Regions from separate parts of the Homo sapiens genome. Here all the other regions are linked to region 1. The links are contacts of gene promoters, found by promoter capture Hi-C in blood cells and fetal thymus (Javierre and others, 2016). All regions are on one chromosome and are shown on one strand. The core of a region is centred on a gene start or on the middle of the fragment in contact, and the rest is flanking DNA. Distances in the headings are between cores, read along the strand shown. Region 1 holds the start of TM2D3 (TM2 domain containing 3). Region 2 overlaps LRRK1 (leucine rich repeat kinase 1). Region 3 overlaps LRRK1-AS1 (LRRK1 antisense RNA 1).

Evidence for each region. The method cuts DNA at HindIII sites, captures the fragments that hold promoters and counts their contacts. A CHiCAGO score of 5 or more calls a contact.
Region 2: a contact is called between a fragment that was not itself captured here and the fragment with the promoter of TM2D3 in region 1, in 1 of 17 cell types (naive B cells). The highest score is 5.4, in naive B cells.
Region 3: a fragment that was not itself captured here is called in contact with the fragment with the promoter of TM2D3 in region 1 in 1 of 17 cell types (total B cells); the score reaches 5.5 in total B cells.

The regions. Positions count from the first base shown.
Region 1 is chr15:101,649,331-101,654,432 of GRCh38, reverse strand. TM2D3 (TM2 domain containing 3) reads left to right here and starts at 2,052. Exons shown (of 6, transcript NM_078474.3): 1 at 2,052-2,162; 2 at 2,660-2,737; 3 at 4,272-4,429. The coding sequence starts at 2,072. TARS3 (threonyl-tRNA synthetase 3) reads left to right here. Exons shown (of 19, transcript NM_152334.3): 19 at 1-837. RefSeq lists enhancers at 758-1,648, 1,755-1,814 and silencers at 1,475-1,664, 1,905-2,464. The HindIII fragment of the contact is 10,431 bases long and covers 1-2,517 here.
Region 2 is chr15:101,037,139-101,042,240 of GRCh38, reverse strand. All of the region lies in intron 20 of LRRK1 (leucine rich repeat kinase 1), which reads right to left. It also overlaps a transcript of LRRK1-AS1 not described here. Among named protein-coding and RNA genes, the nearest start is that of LRRK1-AS1, 110 kb to the left of the region's middle. The HindIII fragment of the contact is 823 bases long and covers 1,641-2,463 here.
Region 3 is chr15:101,124,476-101,129,577 of GRCh38, reverse strand. All of the region lies in intron 1 of LRRK1-AS1 (LRRK1 antisense RNA 1), which reads left to right. Among named protein-coding and RNA genes, the nearest start is that of LRRK1-AS1, 25 kb to the left of the region's middle. RefSeq lists enhancers at 1,553-1,722, 1,933-2,042, 2,333-2,382 and a silencer at 2,673-2,722. The HindIII fragment of the contact is 1,094 bases long and covers 2,091-3,184 here.

The DNA of each region.
Region 1 (5,102 bases), core at 803-3,302:
GACATGCACGAAGTTTAATTTACTCATGTCCACGGGGGACGTTTAGAGGGCACGTGGGAAATTTTCCAGCAATCAATGCCTTGAGAAACTTAAATGGGGAAATATTATTCATCGAGAAAGTGAAACAAAACACTAGGAAATGATTATGAAATGTTAGTGATTTTCAAAAGATGGGCTTCAAATAAAAGTCTGCAGAGTTTTTTTTAAATAGGAGGGAAAATCTTATTTTCTAATATGTCTCAGGTATTTTTATGACTTCTACTAAAATTCACACTGAAACTTTATCTTCTAAACTGGAATCATTACTTAATTTTAACTAACCAACAACCACAAAAGCAGCAGCTACTGCTAAATATTGGATTACTGACAAAGGAATTCAGTTTTGTGGAATCTGGTGTTTGCACTATAGGTTAAGAGTTGCCATTTAAATGTTTCTTATTCATAATTAGGTTTTGTTCCGCTTTAGAAAAAAATAAATTCCCAAATGAATTGCATCAGTGTTTCCAGCGTTTCAGCTGTGGGCTTCTACCACCACTAAGCCGCTCACCTAGAGTTGTTACTTTTTTGATGGGATGACATTCCATGGATTTATGTACTGAAATGGATTTCAGATTTTAAAGAGAGGAATGCTCTACGTGCTCAGAACTGAATTAAAATGGCATTATGTCAATAGAGAATTCAGCTACCAAACAAGAAGTATTGTTTATTTTGCGATATGCTGTGAAATTCAAAAGAAATGTAAGAAATAATCTCTTTTCAATATACTGATCATTTAGTTAACTTCCTGAGGGATGTGAACAGTGAAACAGTTGGCAAACAAAACAATATATATCAGGCTTGTGTAGTAGTATAAGGTGCAGATTGTGTGATATGATTTTTATTATTTATTTTTTGAGACGGAGTCTCGCTCTGTCACCCAGGCTGGAGTGCAGTGGCGCGATCTCGGCTCACTACAACCTCCGCTTCCCGGGTTTAGGCGATTCTCCTGCCTCAGCTTCCCCAGTAGCTGGGACCACAGGCGCGTGCCTCCACGCCTGGCTAATTTTTTTGTATTTTTAGTAGAGACAGGGTTTCACCGTGTTGTTAGCCAGGATGGTTTCGATTTCCTAACCTCGTGATCCGCCCGCCTGGGCCTCCCAAAGTGCTGGGATTACAGACGTGATTCACCGCCCCCGGCCGTGATACGATTTTTAAAGCTAACATTCAGGGCTTATGTGCCGGCACTTTTCCATGTATTTTTTAAAAAGTCATTCAGCAAACATGCACGTGAGGGGGTGGTAGTCAGAAGACCGCGGAATGAACGATCCCGAAGCACGTGGGTGGGAGGAGAGCACCTGTCACCAGCGCTTTCTCCCAGGTGTGCTGTGACAGAAACCGGCAAGGGTCTCCGCAAGCTGGGGCCTGAGCGCGGCTCCCCAGACGGCCGCGACCTTCCCCAGGCAGGGCTGGGCTCTGGACCCTCCCCTCACTTCCCAGCGCCTCGGGCCATCCTGCTTCTCCAGGCCTGAGAGGAACTTTCTGGAAGTGCTGCGTATCTTCAAGAGGCCGGCCAGAAGTGAAAGCCGCGGCAGGCCTGAGCGCCGGCCCCAGGGGAGGGGTCCCTCGGGCCCTCGTCGTCCCGGGGCCGCTTCCCCGACTGTAAATAAGTGTCTTTAGGATGAAACGCCACGCGATAGTGTCCTCGGAACCTTCGCACGAGATCCAGCACACAACATCCGACCACACACTGGGGCGGCCAGCCTCCCGCGTTCGCCCGCCTCTGCTCTTGGTTGCTTCGGGCGCGCATTTCGGTCCACGGATGACCTTTAACAGGTCTCCTGCAGTGGAACCAGGGGTGAGGGCCTCGTCCAAGGGCGTGAGGGGCGCGTGGAAATGGAACAACCTCCCAGGCTCGCATCCTCCTCGGGGACCTCCCAGAAGGCTCAACCGGAAGAAAACCCGCGACCCGCGCGAGGACAGCGAAAGCGCAAACGCCGGCCGCCAGGAGTCGCAGCGCGCCTGCGTCCAGTTCACGCTCCGGCTCCCAGGCGCGCCCCGCCCCCCGGCCCGGAAGTGCGCAGGCGCTGGCAAGATGGCGGGAGGGGTGCTCCCGCTGAGGGGCCTCCGCGCCTTGTGTCGCGTGCTGCTCTTCCTCTCGCAGTTCTGCATTCTGTCGGGCGGTGGTGAGTCAAAGGCTGGGTTCAGCGCCGGGTGGGGCTGAGTGGCAGCAGGGCCCCGGGAGCTGCGAGGAGGCCGGGCCCACGGGCGGACGCTGACGCGGGGAGGAGGCCGAGTGCCGGGCTCCGGGCCGCTTGTCGCTGCATCTGGAGTCTGGCGCCCTGGCCGCCCGGCCCGAGGCCGCCCCTCCGCTCCGGCGACACCGAGCCCGCCATCGCGGCTGCGGAGCCCTGGCACGGAGATGGAGCGCTTGGGGGCTGGGCCGGGGAGGCGGAACTGGAGCGCGATGTCATCCTTCGGTCCCTCGTTGCCGGCTGACCTGAACTGATGTCTACTCTGTTGACGTTTCGTCCCTAAGCTTTGTGTTTTCTGGCTGACCAGCCGTGAGGTTTTCATGAGCAGCTTATTGGCCTGGTGTAGACCCGCCGTGTTAACCACACAAAATAAGGTTTTCTTGTCCCGGGATAACGTGTTTCTCTAATTGTACGATCCTTAAATTTAGAGCAATCGCAGGCGCTGGCTCAGTCAATAAAGGATCCGGGCCCAACACGCACATTCACAGTAGTTCCCAGGGCAGCAGGTACTAGACGTTTTCTATTCTAGTAAATACATGTAGTTATCTCTAGTAGTTTCTCTTTGTTTTTATAAAAATTCCCTTTAGTATACGAAGTCACTTTCCATTTTTGAATATTTATTGTATTTTAGATTATGTGAATTAAGGGTAGATACACAGCCATTTTCAGTAGATAGTCTTCGTATTTATACCTTTTGACGTTTCTGCCTCCTCTCTTTTTCCAATCCCACGCTCATTTGTCACCTTATTTCTATTATTTTTCCACTTCATCCATCAAAATAACCTTCAGTCCGTGCTTCTTTCCCTTCAGCAAATTTCCTCTACTGCTAAAACCCTGTTCCTGATGTTGGAATATTAAAGGCTCCCTCAGGACTGTGGAAATGGAAGGATTACAGCGGGACTGATGGAGACTTGAAATCTAGATCTGGTTTTGCTACTGGGATCTTGAACAAATTATTTATCCTCTTTGGACCTTGGTCCTCATCTTTAAAGCGGTGGGGTTGGTCTGACGACCTAAAGTCATTTCTGCTTTGTGATTCTAAGTGTCCACCTTCCAGCCACATAGTCACGGGATCAAAAAGAGTATTTTGTAGAATTGTTCCTTAATACAGTGAGTAAAGTAGGACCAGTTTTAAACAAGCATTAGTGTGTTTTGCTAGGTGGAGGCTCTGACTATAATTTCATCACTTTAAAGTGACATTACTTCAGTGAATTGAAACTGGCAGAGATATTTTACTGATTCTTATTTGGATGTAAAAAACAGCAGTGCACTTGAATTTTAAACTCAGATTACTTTTTAGAGAAAGCACAAGAGTTCTTAACTCTTGCAGGCTTTTGAAAGCCCTTCTTTTCAGGAATACTTGCAATTTTGATCCTTTCAGTTGGTAAAAATACATTGCACACTCATTAGGTTGGTTGGAAATAAGTTGCAGCTTACTGAAGATGTTATTAAAGTAGAGAACTGTTTTGAACTTTGGTAGCGTAAAACTGTAAATATTATATTAGCAAATGTGGCTTATCGAAGTACCAGTGTGAAATAATGACATTTTAAAGTTGATGCCCTGAGGATGTCAGTGGCTTCATTTCTGAATTAGTGAATTCAGATGAAAAGAACACGGGATTGGAAATGGAGAGATTTGGGTTCTAGTTCCAGTTTTGCCACAGACTTCCTCTGTGATTTTGCAAAACCCTACTGTAAGTTTTTTTTCAACTTACAAAATGATAGTCTTTTTTTTAAGCCCTTAATGTATACCCAGAATTTTCTATACATTATTTGTATATGAGCACCTTTAGTTTTCACGGCCACGTGGGAGGCAGGAATGAAGTAATGTTTTACAAGTGTGGTGCTCACCAGGTCCCACAGCTGGCCGTGGGCAGAATTCTGCTTTAATTGCAGGTGTCTCTGACTCCAGTCCCATGCTTCTTCCCTTCCAGTGCAGTGTCTACTTGCTAATGATCACGTCTCTTAACCTTAGAAGATTGTTCTCTGTTATTCGAATCAGTATTATAGGAGAATAAGCTTCTCTCTTGCCTCTCACAGAAAGTACTGAAATCCCACCTTATGTGATGAAGTGTCCGAGCAATGGTTTGTGTAGCAGGCTTCCTGCAGACTGTATAGACTGCACAACAAATTTCTCCTGTACCTATGGGAAGCCTGTCACTTTTGACTGTGCAGTGAAACCATCTGTTACCTGTGTTGTAAGTACTGCAGCTTACTTATTCTAAATAAATTCATTGTAAACTTTAAGTTAGAAGAACAATTCAGACTTGATTATTGGGAAGAAATTCTGAAGAATTTTTATATTCTTTTATGATTTCCCTTTTGAGTATGTAAGCAGAAATAAATTAAAAAACCCAATAGACCTTTCCATATCAGCTCACTACTGTTTTAGTTATAATGATAACTGTCAAGCCAGTTGATGTCTGCTGGAAATGCACTTGACAGAAATGTTGCTTTGTAGGACTGGAGAAGATCTCAGTCTACTAGCATATCTGAAGCAAGTCTAATTCGTTCAGATGGATTCTGTGTTCTCAATAGTGACAGCTAGTGTACAGAGGGGGTGGCAGTGTCTTTCTGCCATAGATGAGCTTTTGAAGGGCCAGTGCTTATCTGTGGTGAGAAGATGGATTCAGTAAATGCCGGAATGCCTGGTAGCTCTCTAGAACAAAATTAAGTGGAACGCCTGTCTTATCCAGAATAAATTCCAGATAGTCCAAAGATGTAATGTGAAAAATGAAACCCTGAAGTACCACAGAAAACACCAGATAGTTGCTGTTATAATCCCAAAATGGAGAATATTTTTCTAAGTATGAAATAAAGTTTAGAAGCCATAAAATAAAGAATTGATACATTTGACTCCTAAAAATTGGA
Region 2 (5,102 bases), core at 803-3,302, 610 kb after region 1:
AACAAAAGTCTTGTCTAAAAAAGAGAATTTGTTTCCATCAGACTTAGACTTTAAGACATGCTACACGTAATTCTTCAGGATGAAAAGAGATTATACCAGATGGAAAGAAGTGAAGAGCACCAGAAACAATCAACATTTTTCCCTTAATTTCTTAAAAGACTATTGATTGTTTAATTATTCAAAGCAAAAGTAATAACACTATATTATGGGGTTCATTACATATATTGTAGTCCTCCCTTATCTGCAGTTTCTTTTTCATGGTTTCAATTACTGGTCCAAAAATATCAAGATATTTAGAAAGAGAGAGAGAGAGACCACATTTATGTAACTTCTGTGACAGTATATCATAATTATACTGTTTTGTTGTTATTGTTGTTAATTTCTATGTGTTGTTAATCACTTACTGGTTTACAATTAAACTTCATCATAGGTATGTAGATAAAGGAAAAGGCATAGTATATGTAGGGCTCAATACTATCGCAGTTTTAGGCATCCACGGGGGTCTGGAAATCCACCAGCTGTGGATAAGGGGGACTACTGTATAGAAGAAACGTGGATGACAGCAAGAGTACAGAGGGTGCTGGGAGGAGTAATGTCCTGGTATCGTGCTAAGGTTTTTGCATTTAATTCAAGGTGGTATAATATTAATTACAAGTAGATTGTGATAAGGTAAGGATGCATATTCTAATCCCAAGAGTAACCACTAAAACACAGTACCAGGAAGAATGGCCAAAAACCCAACAGAGAGCATGAAAATACTAAAATAAAATTTAACTCAAAAGAAGGCAGGAAAGAATGAACAAAATAACAAAATCAGATGGTATAAATACAAAATAAATAGAGAAATAGTAGGCTTAAACCCAACCATATAATTAATTATGATAAATGTGAATGAATCAAATATTCCTATTAAAAGGCAGAGATTATCAGATTGGATAATGTGCTGTCAGCAAGAGATTCCTTTTTTATAGAGATCATAACCTGCTACTAGAAGAATAGGGAAAAAACCCAGGTAGAACTAAAAGAGCTGGTGTGGCTATTTTAACATCAGACAAAATAGACTTCAAGAAAAGGAGTATTACCAGTGATAAAGAGAAACATTGTATAATGAAAAAAGGGTCACTTCATTACACAGGCATGACACCAATGTGTATATGTAACCAATAATGGCTTCAAAATATATAAAATAAAGCCTGTCAGAACTGGAGAGAGAGGTAGACTTATCATTAGATATTTTACCATCTCTCTCTTAGTAATTGATAGAATGAGTAGGAAAAAAATCAGTGAGAATACGGAAGATTTGAACACGTTGTTTACCACTCTGAGCTAATTAAGGTTTATAAGATACTACAGCCACAACACAGAAAACTCGTTTCTTGTGTGCACTCCAGACTTTCACTGGGAAAGATCACACATTGGCCCATAAAATAAGTCTCAGTGAATTTCAAAATACAGAAATCTTAGAATATATTCTCTGACCAAAATAATATAAGATATATTAGAAAATCTTTCGAACTAAATGATAAAAACACAACATAGCAAAATTAGTTGTATTTGTCATATAAAGCAGTGCTTAGAAAGTTATGGCTTTAAATGCTTACATAGAAAATAGGAAAGGCTTAAAATAAATGACCTAAGCTTCTACCTTAAGAAGGAAGAACAAGAAGCACAAATTAAACCCAAAGTTAGCTGAAGGAAGACAATAATAAAGAGCAGTAATAGATGAAATAAAAGAGAAAAATAATAGAAGAAATCAGCAATGGCAACGGTTCGTTCTTTAAAACGGTTCCAAAAATTTGATAAACACTTAGCAAGACTGATCAAGAAAGAATGAGAGAAAAGACATATTATTAATATCAGGAGAGAGAGCATATCACTACACATTCCAGAGATATTTTAAATATCTTTATATTAATATATTCTGCACCATAGATGAAATGAAAAAATTTATTGAAAAAAAAATAACTTACCAAAACTGACACAAGAATAGAAAATTTTAATAACCCTATAGCTAATAAATAGATTGAATTTGTAATTAAAAATCCTCTTGTGAAGTAAACTCCAGGCTATAAATTCTATCAAACTGTTAAGGAAGGTCTAACACCAATCTTATACAAAATCTTGAAGAAAATAGAGAAGGAAAAAAATCTTTTCAATTCATTTTATGAAGACAGCCTATGTCTGATAACCCATAAAGACTTTTCATCAAAGTACCAACCAATATCCCTCATGAACATAGATTAAAAAATTCTTATGCAAAATAGGAGCCACTGAAATCTAGCATTAGATAAAAAAGATAATAAATCATGAACACTTGGTATGAATCTTGGGAATACAAAGTTGGTTTAACATTTGAAAATCCATCAACATATTTAACAGAAAAATAACTGAAGAAAAAAATTAACAGAGGCAGAACAAGCATTTTTGGGGGACAAAATTCAGTACCCATTTATGATAAAAGCTTTTAGCAAACTGGGAATAAAAGGGAACTTCCTCAATCTGATAAAGTTTCCATGGATAACAAAGCTCTGCAGAAAACATCACACTTGATGGTGAAAGACTGAATGCTTCCCCCCTGAGATCACACAGAATGACGCCTTCTCTCATCCCTTCTATTTAAACCTTCGCTAGAGATCCGAGCCAATGCAATCAGGCAAACAGAGCAAAAAAATATGTGAAGATTAGAATGAAAAAAGTAAAACTGTCTTTTTTTCAAAAAAGAAGCATACTTAGAAAATCCTGAAAAATCTACTGGAGCTAATAGGTGAATTTAGCAAGGTTTTTTGATATAAGGTAAATATTTAAAAATAAATTATATTTCTGTATACCAGCAACAAGAAATGGAAATCAAATTAGAAGATATGTCATTTACCCATATCGGAGAACATAAATTATGTAGACACAAATTTAACAAAAGATGCAGAAAATCTGAATACTGAAAACAAACCACCGTGGAGAGAAACTTTTTAAAAACCAAAATAAATGAGAGATATACCATGTTCATATTGGAAGATTCAATATTTCTAAGATGTCAGCTTTCTTTGATCTATAGATTCAATGTAATCTCCATAAAAATCACAACGGTTTTTTAAGAATCAGACAAGCTGATTCTAAAATTTAGATGAAAATGCAAAGGATCTAGAATAATCCAAAATAATCTTGAAACAGAAGAACAAAATTGGAGGGTGTCATATGCTGAATAATGAGCCCCAAAATATCCAGGTCCTAAACCCTAGAACTGTGATTGTTACCTTACATGGAAATAGAGACTTTGTAGATGTGATTAAGTTATGGACTTTGAAATGGGGGAAAGATCCCACATTATCTGGGTGGACCTTAAGTGCAGCCACAAGTGTGCTTAAAAGATGGGGGAAGAGAGAGATTTGCACAGAAGAAGGCAAGATGGCCACTGGCGCAGGGTGCCATGCTGCTGGGAGGGACGGCTTCAAGATGGCTGACTAGAGGCATTTCAGACTTGCCTCTGACACTGAGAAGAGGCAAAATAGTGAGTAGATAATCACACGTTGAATAGATCATCCAAGAGGGAACACTGGAATTCAACAGAAAAGTGACAGGAAATACCTAAGGCAAGGAAGGACAAGGAAGCAAGGCAGCCTGCTAGGCTGAGAGCTGAGAGAGACTCCCCAGTGTGGGGAAAGGTAAGTGAGAGATCCCCAGTGGTCGACATTCCCACTCTGGACTCCTGAAATCCAAGGCACAGGAGAGCCCCTCACCCTTTGTGGGCCCTGAAACTAACTGATGGGAGATTGTGCAATGGCACTGCTCGGAGGGTGCTCACTCTAGGTCTCACACTCTCTGAGACCTGAGCAGCCACACTAAGGAGGCAATTTATTTATATTTTAATTTTTAATTTCAATAGGGCTTTGGGGAGCAGGTGGTGTTTGGTTACGTGATAAAGTTCTTCAGTGGTGATTTCTGAGATTTTGGCACTCCCATCACCTGAGCAGTGTACACAGTACCTGATGTGTAGTTTTTTATCTCTCATCCCCTCCCACCCTTTCCCCTGAGTCCCCAAAATCCATTGTATTATTCTTATGCCTTTGCATTCTCATAGCTTAACTCCCAATTATAATTTGGAACATATGATGTTTAGTTTTCCATTCCTGAGTTACTTCACTTACAATAATGGTCTCCAATTCATCCAGGTTGCTGCAGATGCCATTATTTTATTCCTTTATATGGCTGAGTAGTATTCTATGGTGTATATATACCACAATTTTTTTAATCCAATTATTGATTGATGCACATTTGGGATGGTTCCATATTTTTGCAATTAGGAATTGTGCTGTTATAAACATGTGTGTGCAAGTATCTTTTTTGTATAATGACTTCTTTTCCTCTGGGTAGATAGCCAGTAGTGAGATTGCTGGATCAAATGGTAACCTACTTTTAGTTCTTTAAGAAATCTGCAAGGAGCCATTTTACAGCCCTGTCCCCAACAGACTGTGTACTGTCCGGGAGCCCAGTGGTGCTGGGGCTGAGGTGCAAGAGAAATGTGGGCTGCTACCCCTGGGGCTGAGGTGTGAGTGAGGCATAGGCTACCACCTTAAAGGCTAAGGTGTGAGTGGCATATGTTCCCCACCCACCAGCCTAATCTGTTGCCACTGAAGGTGGCCCACCCTCCCCAGTGGCAGGGCAGCAGTGTGGCCACTGATGTCCCCAGCCTGAGCATTCCATTGCTGGCCTGGGGATCACTTCACTCCTGCCTACCATGGCTGGTACCTGTACACACCATTGAGGGGCCTGAATACAAGCCCACCTGACCTGGCTTCATGTCCCCTGGCCCCTGTGCCAGAGCATGTGGACTAGGGCTGAGGGACTGCCCAGCTCAGTGGTTCAGTCCACCATCAGTGGTACCTGACCACTTCTCCTGAGGGCCTAAGGTTGGGCCTACCGACTCTGCTGTTACCACTACAGCTGGTACCTACTTGCACATGTCACCCGTGGCCCTGTGCACAAGCCCAACCAGCCCATTGCAGCCACTGCCAATACCAGCATGCACTGCTCAGGACCTACAAGGTTTTCCTGCCACTTCCACTGCCATTACCCACACCATGCCAGCTGCCTAGGGACCTGAGAAC
Region 3 (5,102 bases), core at 1,388-3,887, 530 kb after region 1:
TCTCTTCCTGGCTCATAGGTGGCTGCCTTCTTGCTGTAGCCTCAAAGGCAGAGAGGGAACACTCTGGTGTCTCTCCCTATTTTTTTTTTTTTTTTTGAAACAGAGTCTGGCTCTGTCACCAGGCTGGAGTACAGTGGTGCGATCTTGGCTCACTGCGACCTCTGCCTCCCAGGTTCAAGCGATTCTCCTGCCTCAGCCTCCCAAGTAGCTGGGATTACAGGCATGTGCCACCACACCCAGCTAATTTTTGTTAGTAGAGATGGGGTTTCACCATGTTGGCCAGGATGGTCTCGATCTCTTGACCTTGTGATCTGCCCACCTAGGCCTCCCAAAGTGCTGGGATTACAGGTGCAAGCCACTGCACCCAGCATCTCTCCCTGTTTTTAAGAGGAAACCAGCCCTAGAGAATCAGGGCCACCTCCTTCTGATCTCATCTAACCCTGATTGCCTCCTAATAGCCCTATCTGCAAATACTGTCACACTGCAGGATTCAGGCTTCAACATATGGATTTAGAGAGGACACAATTCAGTGCATAGCAACTTGTTGCCATATTTGGCTATTGTCAAATAAAAACAATACGGAGGGCTGGGCGACCTGCACATTCAGTCCCTTAGAACCAGAAGCTTGAGCAGCCCAGAGGCCAGTGCAGACCCTGCTTGCCTGGCGCTTTGCTGTGACCTCTGCTTGACAATGCTTGCTGCCTTGGAGCTGACGGGCTCTCGTCCAGCTCAGCTGGGGCACAAAACCGTGTAGCTTTGTCTAATTAAGAGCCACAGATGAAGTGCACCTTGGATGTGTTTCTTATTATTTCGGATGAAAGGTTGGCCTCTCTAGAAATCACCCCCAAGATTACTGTGCCTCAAACCTCGCTTGTTCCAGCCGATAGGGAAATGACGTTTTAACGATCATGTTAAATGAAACTGTAAGCTTGACCTTATTAGCTGCCTCTTCTTAATTAGCTGCTTATGCAAGCATTCTTTCCCCCCTGTAGATACAAATCAACAATTTCCAAGCCATCTTTGAACCAACCCACTCTTCTGTCCCCTTGCCAATTCCCTAGCTCCAGGGTTAATAAACTTCACATATGCTCAAGAGCAATTGCGTTAAGAAATGTTGCTTCCACGTAATTACTAGCAAAGTGCAGCATCAGCAGCCATTCATCCCTCACACATGTGCAAATTTACTGCAGGGTACATTCCTAGGAGTGTGTGTCATGGAGGACGGCTTGGCAGCTAGCATTCTGTGTGCTCTCCTCGCTGTTCCTTCAAAGGCTGGAAGGTGAGCCACTGCTTTTCCCGCTTCCCTTGCCGCTAGAGTTCTAAATGTGAAATGGGTTATGCCCGGTGGTCAATGTTTAACAACCAGCTCTCAAAAAAAAACAAAAAAACAACACAAAACAAAAGCAACCCGGCTGTTAGTGCTTGCTGATTTCCATGGTGTAAATATATCCACTGTGGTCAATTTCAATCTTGCTATCCCCTGGTGTCCCTGGACCTGGAATTGGAATTGCCGTGCACCGTTGGCTGTCACTAGGCTGAGCCAGCTCCAGCACATCCATAGTCCTGCCAATTCTTCGCACACCACTATGATTCAGAGGCCAAGACTCTCCTCCTGCTGCTTTTGGCCGTTTCTGCTGGCGAGCAAAGTTGTGGTGGTTGTTTTTCCTGTGGCAGCGTTCCAGGGTCCATTCAGTCCCTTTGTGGGGTCAAGAGGCAGGTATGGTACAGCACTGGGAGCCTCCCGACCCCCACCTGGCTGAGTGGAGTCAGGCTAGCAGAGCCCAGCCGGCTGGTCCCCAGGCCTTTTTCCGGGCACCACGCCAATAGGCCTGGCCCATGCCTCTCAATAAAACGGTAAGCCCCTAATTTCCTGTCTAAACCCCTTTTTGCTTAAAATTGTTAGAGTGGTTTCTGTTTCCTGTAACTAAACCCTGGCTGATGTAAAGTGGAACCTGAAACTGCATTTTTTTTTTTTTAAAGCAGATGTACGTTTTCCTTAGGCTTGTCTCCTAATCTGTCTGTGCAGAAGGATTTTAATGCGTTGTGAGGCCTGGGAGGACAATAATGAGTAAATTGGCACTCATTAAGCTTTGTAAATCTGAGAACTCTGGAGACAAAGCATCTGAGTGAGCTGAGAAGGGTGAGACCCACTTCTAGGGTCTGTGAGGCCCTGTCCTCTTAGCACTCCTTCTGCCAGGCCCCGGCAAGGCTGTCTGTGTTCACCAGGCAGAGGCTAGGCTGTAGGATGCTGGCGTTAGTTAGGGAGAAACTGGATTTTCTTAGATCCACAGAATCAGACACAAGTCATGAGACTATGTCATTTAGTTTGCAACTCCAAATGCTTTTGAGGCTGAGTTAACTGTGGGACGTCTCTTTGGATTTACTCTCAGGCAGGGCTCCTCCCTGGGGAGCAAACTACTCCTGAGGTGAGATGGGGGAGAACAGATGTGTACCAGTGATCCCAGCAGCCTAGGGAGGAGGCCCGACTTGCAGAGGCATTCTTTCAGCTCATTAAAGAGCACCCTCTTTGATAAAGGCAATTACCTCTTGGGAAAGAAGCCTGTTAGCAGCCCTCAGAACCTGGGTGTGAATGAATTTCCAGGTTCTTTCCAAGCTGAGAGCAGGTAGGTACTGCGAGGATGAGGCACAGCCTGGGTAAGTCTGGCAGCCGGAACTGTGGGGAGTAGACCCACCCACGGTCACTAATAAGAGGGGCTAGTCGGGACTGTGCCCTGAGAAGTGGGAGCTGAGCCCTGCAGAACCAGCTTCTAGGCTCTGTCCCCTCCTGCTGGCCCTTGGATAAGCCTCTCTGGGCCCCCTGCTTTCTCATCTGTCAAATGGGGATTATATTACCTAGCCTCATAATGTTCTCCTGCGGTGGGTAAAATGGAATCTTCAAAGCGCTAGGGAAATAGAAAGTGAGGGCGGGGTAGTGGGAGCTGTGGGCCTGGGTTCAGGCAGCGAGGTGACACACTGTCACTGAAGTCACAATAATAAAATCTACTAAGTCAGACGACTGGTGTTTTTGTTGCTGTTGTTTGTTTTTCTAATTACCAGGCATGATTAAATACTCCTGCCAGGGAAAATATTTTGTTGATCTAAATTCTAAACAATTGTGAGGGTTTATGTATATATATATATACTTCAAATCAACATGATTTTATTTATTATCCTTTGATAAGCTTTGTATTCCAAGTGAAAGTTAATTTCAGAACTCCCAGGTATAAAGTCGGTCCAGAAATGTGCTTTTCAAAAGTAAGTTGTGAGCCGTCTGAAGCCACTTTGGACATCATTCACGTCTCCAGTGCCCCAGGGTGCTGTGAATTCCTACATTTAAACAGCAGATTTGACGAAGCAACAATAGCACAGTGATCGGAAAGAGGAAGATTCGGAACTTAAGTTACTTCAATTCTGTATTCTGTGTGACCATTGAAGTCTTGTTTGTGTTTAACATTTAAAACAGTATAAGAGGCCAGGAGCGGTGGCTCATGCCTGCCGGTAATCCCAGCACTTTGGAAGGCCGAAGTGGGCGGATCACAAGGTCAGGAGTTCAAGACCAGCCAGACCAACATGGTGAAACCCTGTCTCTACTAAAAATACAAAAAATTAGCTGGGCGTGGTGGCAGCCGCCTGTAATCCCAGCTACTCGGGAGTCTGAGGCAGGAGAATCCCTTGAACTCAGGAGGCAGAGGTTGCAGTGAGCCGAGATCGCGCCACTGCACTCCAGCCTGGGTGACAGTGTGAGACTCAGTCTCAAAAACAAACTAACAACCCCAAAAAACAGTACAAGAGCACAAACTGCAAGGTGAGGGGACATTTTAGTTCATATATGAAATATTTTACTACATTGGAATGATATATTTAAAATTGGAAACATGTTCTTTTTAAATTATTAATTTAAAACTAAGGAACAAATCAAGAAAATTAAATATTAGAGAAAATATAGTAGTTGCCCAAGTTTTATCTTTTGCAGATGTTTTGTCTCATTTACTGAAATATAATTGATATACCATAAAATTCACTGTTTTAAAGTATACAATTCAGTGTTTGCTTTTTCTTTTTCCTTTAACCGTACTCACAAGGTTGTACAGCTTTCACTGCTATCTAATTCTAGAATATCTTTGTCACCTGAAAAATAAACCCCATACCACGAGCAGTCACTCTTCACTTCCCTCAGCCCTGGGCAGCCACTAGTCTATGTCTTCATGGATTTGCCTATTCTCAGAATTTAATAGAAGTGAAATCATATAATAGGTGACTTCTGCATTTGGTTTCTTTCCCTTAGCGTAATGTTTTCAAGGTTCTTCCATATTGTAGCATGTCAGAATTCCCTTCCTTTTGCTTTCCTTCCTGAATCATATTCCCTTGTATGGCTATACCAGATTTTCTTCTCCATTCGTCAGCTGCTAGGCATTTGGGTTATTGTCACCTTTTGGCCATTGTGAATCATGCTCCCATGAAGATTCATGTAGAAGATTTTGTGTGAATGGAGGTTTTCATTTTTCCTGGGCATAGACCTACGAGTGGAATTGCTGGTCATGTGGAAACTATGTTTAACGTTTTGAACAACCGCCAAGGGATTCGTCCTTTTGTGAGTGTATATCCAGTCCCAGCAATTTCTCCACATCCTCACTAACGCTTAGCTGCCCTTTAAAAATTAGAGTCATTCTAGTAGGTGTGAAATGGTCTCTCACTGCGGTTCCTTTTTTTTTTTTTTTTTTTCCCAGAGACAGAGTTCTGCTCTGTCACCCAGGCTGGTGTGCAGTGGTGCAATCTTGGCTCATTGCAATCCCCCCACTCCCAGGTTCAAGCGATTCTCCTGCCTCAACCTCCTGAGTAGCTTGGACTACAGGCACCTGCCACCACATTCAACTAATTTTTTTGTATTTTTTTGTAGAGATGGGCTCTCGCCATGTTGGCCAGGCTGGTCTCGAACTCCTGACCTCAAGTGATCTGCCCGCCTTGGCCTCCCAAAGTGCTGGGATTACAGGCATGAATCACTGCACCCAGCCTCTGTGGTTTTGATTTGCCTTTCCAATGACTTTTGATGTGATTATTGGCCATTTTTGTATGTCTTCTTTGGAGAAATGTCTATTCAATTC